2 separate regions of the Homo sapiens genome follow, and region 2 is linked to region 1. The links are contacts of gene promoters, found by promoter capture Hi-C in human tissues and cell types (Jung and others, 2019). All regions are on one chromosome and are shown on one strand. The core of a region is centred on a gene start or on the middle of the fragment in contact, and the rest is flanking DNA. Distances in the headings are between cores, read along the strand shown.

What was found. The method cuts DNA at HindIII sites, captures the fragments that hold promoters and counts their contacts. A contact is called where the count stands out against the background at its distance.
Region 2: a fragment that was not itself captured here is called in contact with the fragment with the promoter of LRFN2 in region 1 in 1 of the 25 tissues and cell types used here (H1 embryonic stem cells).

The regions. Positions count from the first base shown.
Region 1 is chr6:40,584,947-40,589,648 of GRCh38, reverse strand. It overlaps LRFN2 (leucine rich repeat and fibronectin type III domain containing 2), which reads left to right and starts at 2,285. Exons shown (of 3, transcript NM_020737.3): 1 at 2,285-2,708. RefSeq lists silencers at 1,853-1,922, 2,013-2,112. The HindIII fragment of the contact is 16,487 bases long and covers 1-4,702 here.
Region 2 is chr6:40,824,561-40,829,177 of GRCh38, reverse strand. It overlaps LOC105375053 (a long non-coding RNA gene), which reads left to right and starts at 3,835. Exons shown (of 3, transcript XR_926790.3): 1 at 3,835-4,095. The HindIII fragment of the contact is 3,126 bases long and covers 1,359-4,484 here.

The sequences.
Region 1 (4,702 bases), core at 1,036-3,535:
GAGGAAAAGGGACTTGTCACATTGCTTGTTAATACAAAGCCATGGTGAGCATCCAGGCCACCTGTGCCCCAGCACAGTACTCAGGTTATGTTGGGGCAAATGTAATTAGAAAAATAAACCAGTAATTCTCAGAATTACCAATGACCCAGGTCTTGGCTCTTCATGGAATATCCATGTTTCTGACTTGAGAAAACTTCTTGATGGAGTATTGGGTTCACTCTAGAGCAGAGATTGATCCATCCTTCCTATATCCCTCATTCACATCATTCTAATGCTTTTCTGGTTTCTAAAAGCAGCTCCATTTCTACTCTGGTGCCAGCTTGGTCCTATCCCTGCCACTCCGTTCTGGTTGTCTCATGGGTGACTGAGGGTTAGGGGAGATAACCTAGCCCACTGCCCCCAACCCTTGGGAGAATTCAAAGGCTTGAGCCCAGGCTGTGGTTCTTCCTAAGCCTTTCTTCCTGGGAGCTCCCGCCAATAGTAGGCAAGCCCTCAGGTAAGCAAAGAGTAAGGCAGTTTCCCTGCTGTTCTCCCCTCCTTCTTCCCTTCCCCTTCCTCTTCCCTACTTGCCCTCCCCAGTTTCTACTCCACACCTCCTTTTACTCACCTCTTCCTTCCTCATTACTTTCCTTCTCATGACTCTTCCCTACCTCTATCCCTCACTCCCTGCTCCTGAGTTAGATCCCTTCTCTCCAAGGCCCACCCCATATACCTTGAGTTTCATCTTGGCCATGCCCCTCCCCCACCAGGCTTTCCAGAATTCCTGCAGGGAGAGGCTTGTCTTCAAGGATATGCAGCATGCCAGTTTGGCAGTTTCCCGGGGTGCACATGTGGAGGGTGCACACATGAGGACCAGCTGCCTCGGCTTCTGCAGTTATGCATGTGTGTAGAGAGGACACAGGGTCGTATGTTACAGATGTATCCAGCCGAGCCAATCCTGGGCTGCAGAGACACATCCACATGCAACATGTGCCTCCCTGTGGGTAACCGGGACAGGTGCACGGGATGTGTTAGCCACCAGGAGAGAAGAGAAGGACTGCAACATTGACATTCTTCCTGCCCCTGGATTTACCAGCTGGAGTACCAACAGGAATCTCAAAATTTCATTTCCTTTAGAAGGAAGGAAATGCCTCTTGGGGAGTCCAGTAAGGCAGAGGACGGTCCTACCTTTCTGGTAACTAGTTGTTTATAGTGAACCGAGAGGATAACCAAAGACGAGACCTTGGCCAGACCTGGGTGTTCTGACTGTGAGCTCACAGTCTGCTTTGAGTAGGGTCTCCGCTACCTACCACATGCCTTGGACAAGTCACTTTACTCTTTTGGGCCTCAGTTTCCTTATACATCAAATGAGGGTTGCTGAGAAGATCAAACAAGTGAAGAGTTGTAAAGATGCTGTGCAAACACTTGGCGCCACTGCACCCTTCACTGATTCTTGTAATAATCATGAAAAGTCAAAGTGCGTGTGTGTGCGTGCACGGGGCGCTCGTTATTCATAGGTCCCTTACCAGGATTCGAGAATCTGAACTGGGCCCCAGGACTGGGTGGGCGCGATCGCCCCAGCCCCCACTCCCAGCCTAGGGCCGGCGCGGTCGGGTTTTCCTCCAGCAGGCGGCGGGCTGACGGCTGCAGGGCGCGCTAGGCACGTGAGGTGGCAGCGCCGTCGCCAGCTGCAGAGGTGCAGCCCTGGCCGCCCGGCTCGCCTTCCGCAGGGGCTGCCCGTGCCGCTGGACCGCGGAGACCGCCCTCCCGGTTCCGGGGCTCGCGGCCTGCCCACCTCCCTCCGCGACTGCGGCCCCAGCCCACTCCCGCCCCACCGTGCGTCCCCGCGCCACCCCTGCCAGGACCGTGAATCCCTCTGGTTTCCGCGGCGGTGTTGGTCGTCTCGGAAGCGGGTGCGCTCGGCAGCGGGCAGGGCAGCGGGCGCAGAGGCTGCCTTCGGCTCCTGCAGCTCCGCGGTTCGCCACTGGGGGCTGCCGCGCCGGAGAGCTCGGCGGGGACGGTGCGCACGGCCGCCGGGTTCCTGGGCGCCTCTGGCCGCTGGGTTTTCTCCACTGCTGGCCCTGCGCTGTCTCCGCAGCCCGCCCGACTCCCTCCCAGATTGGAGCGTGTGATCCGTGTGTGTGTGTGTGTGCGTGTGTGTGTGTGTGTGTGTGTGGAGCGGAGAGAGAAACCGGGTACGCGCGTATGCGCGCGCGCGTGGGGGGCAGTGTGCATGCGGGGAGTACGGGGGAGTGTGTTTGTGTGTGCGTGTGGGTGTGAGTGCCTGGCTCCCTCTCGCTGAGACACACATACACTCACACATACACAACCCGGCAGGCTCGTCTGAACTTGAAGACACCCCACATTCCAAGATGCCCGAGGTTCCTGGGAATGCCTGGGGTTCTTCGATCCGGAAAATCCTACCGGCATCCTCCTAGGGAGGGATTATTATTATTATTTTTCTTTAATCTGGAAGAGAAGAGAACAAGTTGTGCTTTTCCCCCCTTCTTCTTGCTAAATGCCATGGATATAACTGAATAAGCGGCTCAGGGCTTTCCCCGCGTGGACGTCCGAGGCCACCATCTGCCTGCATTCGCCGGAGCCGCCGGAGGGTTTAGCTCGAGTCTGTCTCGGGCGGGGAAGGATGCGTGGCCGAGCCGGGGAGCCCGGGCGCCCCGCGGAGCCGGCCTCGGTGCCACCCAGCCGGGGGTAGATGCTGCCTCGCCCAGGTGAGTGGTCGCCGGCGCTGCGTCTTTGCGATCCCGGGTGTCCGCGGGAGCTCGGCGCGGGGCTGAACGCACCCGAGGGAACCGGGAACTTTGCATCCCTTTCTTTTTCTCTTGAAGACTCCCCGCATCCTAGGTGCTCATGCGGACACCCCCTTCTCTTTTCGCCCATCCTTATCGCGAGAGATTTCCTTTCCTTTCTTTAGTCTTTATTTCCTACAGTGGGGGTGAAACTCTGGCGGGGAGCGGGGAGAGCCGGGTCCATGTGAGACTGGAGAGCCGGATGGAGAGACGGGGAGCCACGGGTGGATGGAACCGTTGAAAACAGCAGGAGAACTTTGCCGCCAGACCACTCTGTTGCATCTCCGCACATGCAAGGCCTGGCTAGAGCCATTGCTGGGGGCTAGGTGGGGGCGCCGGGGACTCCCTGAGCTCTGTGGACTGGGTGGGGTGGGGTAAAGCCAAGTGCGGAAGGGTTGATGCAGAGCGGATGGGAGGAAGGAAGGCATGGTTGCAGTTTGTGGGGGCAGGTAGGGCAGGTTCAGGGACCCTATGCTGGCCTCAGGCAGAAAGCAGATCAGGGGGATTGTGTGTGTGTGCAGCTTGGGGCATCAGAATGGCATGATGAAGCAATATGGAAAGTGGCATTAGCCATGCCTGGGTTCCTAGGTCTCTGTCTCCCACCCAGCCCTGCCCTGGTTCTAAGGTTGGCCTGGGCAGGGAGGAGGGAGAGCAGTAGACCGTTCCGAGGTGGACAGTGCCTTACTTTGCACAGACCTTCTGAGGGAGGTGTCCTACTCGTCTTCCCATCAGCCCGGTACAAAGGACAGAGACAGAGAGTTCTAGGGAGATAGAGCCTCTGAAAACCAGAGCAGGAGGGAGAAGAGAGCCTGAGTGGAGACCGCAGAGGGACTGAGCCAGACTGTTGCCAAATGCACCCGGCGACAGCAGACAGCTGCAGACGGACAGACACCTGCAGGGACAGGGAACATGTCAGAGCCTGCACTCTTGAGTTGGAGTTACAGGCATGGCTATAGATGATGACCCCCTCCCCTGGCCACAATGGAGTGTGTGTGTGTGTGTGTGTGTGTACGCGTGTGTGTGTGTACGCATGTGTATGTTTCAGGGAGGTGGCAGCTGTGGCCTCCATGGCCTGATTGGCCTTCTAGTACTGGGGGAGGGGGAAGCTTCAGGAATTTGACCCCCTGCTGCTGGGGAGGAGCAAAGCTAGGGAGGAAACTGCCATTCCCTGGGCTGTGAAGTTCCCAGGGGCCAGGGCTAGAGGTTCTATGTGGGCTGTTATTCTTGTGTGGGGGCCGATTTGGAACTCAAGGTGGGGAGCAAGGGAACTAGGTCTTGGGGTTGTGCCCTGGTCTGGTCGCTGCCCTCTGGCAGGAGCTTTATATAGCCACACACAGCAGAGCCCTGAGGGTAGTGTCATTTCCTTGTGGGGTACATCAGAGGCTGAAGGGGGTCAGAGTCCTGTAGGGAGGATTCAGAAGCTCCAAAAGGCCTGCACTTGGAGCCGTCATCCTCCGCCGACCATGCCAGCTGCCTGGGCCCTTCTGCTGATGCTGGAATGTCATCTTTCCCTTCTGACTCTGGCTGGGAGTGCAGAGTTGCATCTCCCTCTGGCCTCCTCACATGCTTCTGCTCAGGCCCCCTGCCCAGCCCTCAATTTAGAGTTTCTGGTCTAATTCCTGACCAGGAATGTAATTATTTATCTTCCTGCCCTCATCCTGGGGATGCAAACAGCAAACTTGGCATTTCTGTTTCAGCCTCTGGAAGGTTGGCTCCCAGTTCCATCTCCTGTCTAGAAGAACTGGGTGCCTGCCTGCTGTGGGCTGGAGGCTGGGGTTCAGGGCTCCTTCTTCTGTGAAGTGCCAGTTCTTTGCTCAGGCCCAGAAACGTGAGAAGCTGGGGAGTCTGGCCTGAGAGAGGGTGAGCTGGGAGCTTCCAGGAGGTGAGGCTGAGGAGGAGAAGCAAGATAGATGGGA
Region 2 (4,617 bases), core at 1,672-4,171, 240 kb before region 1:
ATTATTGGTTTTTGCCTATGGATGTCAGTTGTTCTAACATCATTTGCTGAAAAGACCGTCTTTCCTCCATTGAACTGCTTTTGCACCTTTGTCAAAAATCAGTTGGGCATATTTGTGTGAGTCTCTTTCTGGGTTCCCTATTCTATTTCATTGGTCTGTGTCTAGCTCTCTGCCAATACTGCACTGTCTTGACTACTGTGGCTAAAGTGTCAGCCTTAACATCATGTAGAGTGATTCCTCTCACTCTGTTCTTTTCAAATTGTTTTAGGTATTCTAGGTCCTTCAACTTTCCATATAGATTTAAAAATAAGCATGTGGATGGGAGAAAAACCTTCCTGGGAATTTGATGGAAATTGCCTTAACCTATAGGTCACTTTGGAGATAACTGACATTTTTACTATGTTAAGTCTTCCAATCCACTCACACGGCATGCCTTTCCATTTACTTAGGGCTACTTTGACTTCTGTCTTCAGCATTTTGCAATTTTCAATGTATAGAATGTTTTGTTAGATTGGTATCCAAATATTTCTTTTAGTTTGCAGCAATTATGAATGGTATTGTGTTTTTAGTTTTTATGTCCACATGCTTGTTTATAAATAAACAGGTGATTGATGTTTGTGTGTTCACCTTGTACCTTGGTGAACTCCCTTATTCTAGGAATTTTTTTTTTTTTTAGATTTCTTGGATTGCCTATGTAGACAACCATGTCATCTACAAATAGGGATGGTTTTATTTATTCCATTCTAATGTACATGTCTTTTGTTTCTTTGTCAAGATTTAATTTTTAAGTTCTATAAGTGTGCTTGGGAACGTGTTGACTTTAAAGAATCGTTTGATGAAAGTCCTATTTTTAACTGGACATATTTGTATTCTATATTTTATAGGATTGAAATTGAGAAAGTGTACAGTTTTAAAGTGTTTAAATTCAATGAAACATTAAAAGGCATTAGACAATTTATTTAACCAATTTTGTCTCTGAAAAATATTTGTTAAAGAAAGGTACTCAAAAGAGATAAAAATAAAGTACGCTTGAAAATGGCTCAGTATTTATATATTTTAATTTCAAAAGTAAAATTTAGAATATCATACATTTAGCAGATATGCTCTGGCCTTACTATTATGACCACCAGAAGAGTTAATTGACCTATTCATTCCAAGTTTATTAATCATAATATGCAACTCTGGATTGCATAATATATTGAAATAAATGAATTATTCAGAAAAATACTCATGACAGATAATGGCTAGGCTGATTAACAGATGTGAATATATACCAAAGATAATTATTCTCCTTGCTATTTTTAAATGTTTAAATGTCAATATAAAGCTTTTATTCTGCTTTAATATAGATAGATTTTATTTTTTAGAAAAGATCTCATTTTTAAAAGCTTAAAGAAGTCCATCTTGGCCGGGTGCGGTGGCTCCCGCCTCTAATCCCAGCACTTTGGGAGCCCAAGGCAGGCGGATCACTAGGTCAAGAGATGGAGACCATCCTGGCTAACATGATGAAATCCCGTCTCTACTAAAAATACAAAAATTAGCTGGGCATGGTGGCACGTGCCTGTAGTCCCAGCTACTTGGGAGGCTGAGGCAGGAGAATGGCGTGAACCCGGGAGGTGGAGCTTGCAGTGAGCCGAGATCGCACCACTGCACTCCAGCCTGGGCGACAGAGTGAGACTCTGTCTCAAAAAAAAAAAAGTTCATCTTTTAGGTACATCAATATAATAAAAATCAATGTTGGTTAATATATTTTAACAATATTATAGAATTTTAACTGTTTAAACATCTCCTTTTCCTCTAAAATAGTGCCCTGGCTTGGACATGAAATTTCATGATCCTCCCCGGTATAACTTAACTTTGAAATCACAGGTATGTTTAGCATTGTGACATTCTGAAATGGAACTGTCGATAGAGGTATAAGAATAAGGAAGTATCTGGTTAGAGACCCCTAGAACACTAAGAGAGTGCAGATCCAGAATCATCATAATTAGGAGAAATTAGGGACACACACATGAGGGAGCAGGCCTGGGATAGTGCTCTTTCGGAACTAAACAAACCTCTGGACCTACATCAGAGAGAGGTATCCTATGGCAGTCCTGGGATTCTGCTTGTTATAGAATAGCATGCTTGTAGAGAATTGAAATACAAGATTGTAAATCCAGGGCAACTAAGAAACAAGTTTATTGAACTGGGTGAAGATGCTGGGAGTTCTAAAATTTGCTTGTGGGCTTTTCTCTTTAGTCACAGCAGTGGCCAGTGCTAACTGGGCATGTACAGTGTCCCAAATGTAACACCAACGATGCTGCACCCATTCCCAGGATGCCCCACAATTATCAGACAGTGCGTGCAAAGGCACGGGCCACAGCATCTACCAGGAGTGTCCTTGAAGGAGTTTATAGAATTCTTTGTTTCTGTGTTCAGCCAATGCAAAAGAAGGGAAGAGCTCACTAGTGCTGAAGGCACTAACTTAGAAGAAAGCAGAGACAGGGAAAGTGTGAAAAAGAAATCTATTCTGTTAAAATTTTAGTTGGCAGATTTGAGAGGTGTATTAGTTTTCTAAGGCTACAGAAACAAAGTACCATAAACTGGGTGGCTTAAAACAGCGTAAATTTACTTTTTCACAGTTCTGGAGGCCAAAAGTCCAAAATCAAAGTGTTGGCAATGATATGCTGTCTCTGAAGCCTCTAGGGGAGGAAGGGTCTTTTCTTGCCTCTTCCAGCTTTTGGTAGCCCCAGGTATTCCTCGGTTTGTGGCCAATCTCTGCCTCTATCTTCACACGGCTGTCTTCCCTCTGTCTCTCTCTCTCTCTTCCTTTCATAAGGACACCAGTCATATTGGATTAAAGGCCTGACCTACTCCAGTATGATCTCATCTTAACATTCATCTTAATGATATCTGTACACTCTATTTTCAAATAAAGTCACATTTACAAGTACCAGGGGTCAGGTTCCATACATCTTTTTGGAGATACAATCCAGCCTGTAACAGGAGGTTTAACAATTCCTATCAAGAATCTTGAAGAGGCTGGGCACAGTGGCTCACACCTGTAATCCCAGCACTTTGGGAGGCCAAGGTGGGTGGATCACCCGAGGTCGGGAGTTCGAGACCAGCCTGGCCAACATGGTGAAACCCCATCTCTACTAAAAATACAAAAATAAGCTGGGTGTCATGGTGCCTGCCTGTAATCCCAGCTACTCAGGTGGCTGAGGCAGGAGAATCGCTTGAAGCTGGGAGGTGGAGATAGCAGTGAGCTGAGATCCTGCCACTGCACTCTGGCCTAGGTGTGACAGAGTGAGACTGTCTCAAAAAAAAAAAAAACAAAAAAACAAAAAAACAAAAAAATAGAATCTTGAAGAAACTCCCTTTTCAGTGAAAGAAAAATGTGTAACACTCAGATTGTGGGTACCTTCAGAAATCTTCAAGAAATGTTATGCAAACATAAGATAAAGAGAAATTTGAAATGTCAGAAAAAGTTCCATGAGTTTGTGCTGTCCAGCAACATTGCAATAAATGATATCTTCAAGGTTTTCCTGGGAGAACCTACCACAAGACAAATTTTCTCATTTCCAGAAGAGATATCTGAGTGATATGTGTAGTCTAATTGAATGGAATACAGATGACCAAAGCTCAGTTAAGATAAAGTGACACTGTGTAGTCACATGTGCCATTTGAAATACTTAATACTATTACTGACCCCAAAGAAAATATAAATGCAAGCCAAGTCACATCTCTGCAGAATCACAAGCATACCGGCCAAGATCTCTTTTCTTTTAGAACATTTCCCCAGGAAACATAAAGTAGTTCATATAAATATGCTGACATCTTTCAACAGCTGGAAGGACTCATTCTGGGTGTTAACACAGCAGGGAACTGGAAGAATCAGAACTGGAAGAAGAAGAAGTGATTGGCATGCTGACACGCTGCTGTAAGAATTGCAGTGGGGAACAATTACATTGCTCAAAGAACACTTCACAATTGGAGGGAAGAGAATTATGTCAGTGCTGAAGGATTTCACAGCTGTACTCCAAAACAAACCTGGAAATGTACATTATAGGTACTGGAAGCAAAAGAGTCTATTATTTTGTCTTCTTTTAGGTAAGTGGTAAAGTGCTGGGAGGTGGCAGAAATGATAATTCTAAAGGGGCAATTCAGCCTCCTTGTCAGACTTGGGTCTTGCTGGTTGTCATTTCCATATGTGTCACTACTTCTTTGGAAAAGCAGGGCTAGGCTTCGTATAGAATATAAGCATGAACCCAGTCTGAAAATTTCTTTTTCATTCTACCCAGAAATGATTCTCTTACTATATTGATTTAGGGCTCAGAAAGTTCCTAACATCAATTTGTAGAGATACTTTTGGTATATAACTGAAGGAACAGTTAAAAAAAATCTGATTTAGAAACACTGGATGGGCAAAACAAATTTAAGACTTTGATTTAAGAAAGCCCCTAGGGTTATTCCAAATTTAAGTAAGGGTGATACACAGAACACAGTAACCTAGTTTACTGCTTTACCTTCCTCCCTGCATGTAGACGGGATTATAAGGTGCATGTGCATCTTGTTTGGGTTATTAAGCCTTTGCTCCTTACCTCCTGACCTCTTCCTATATATCCTGCTGTG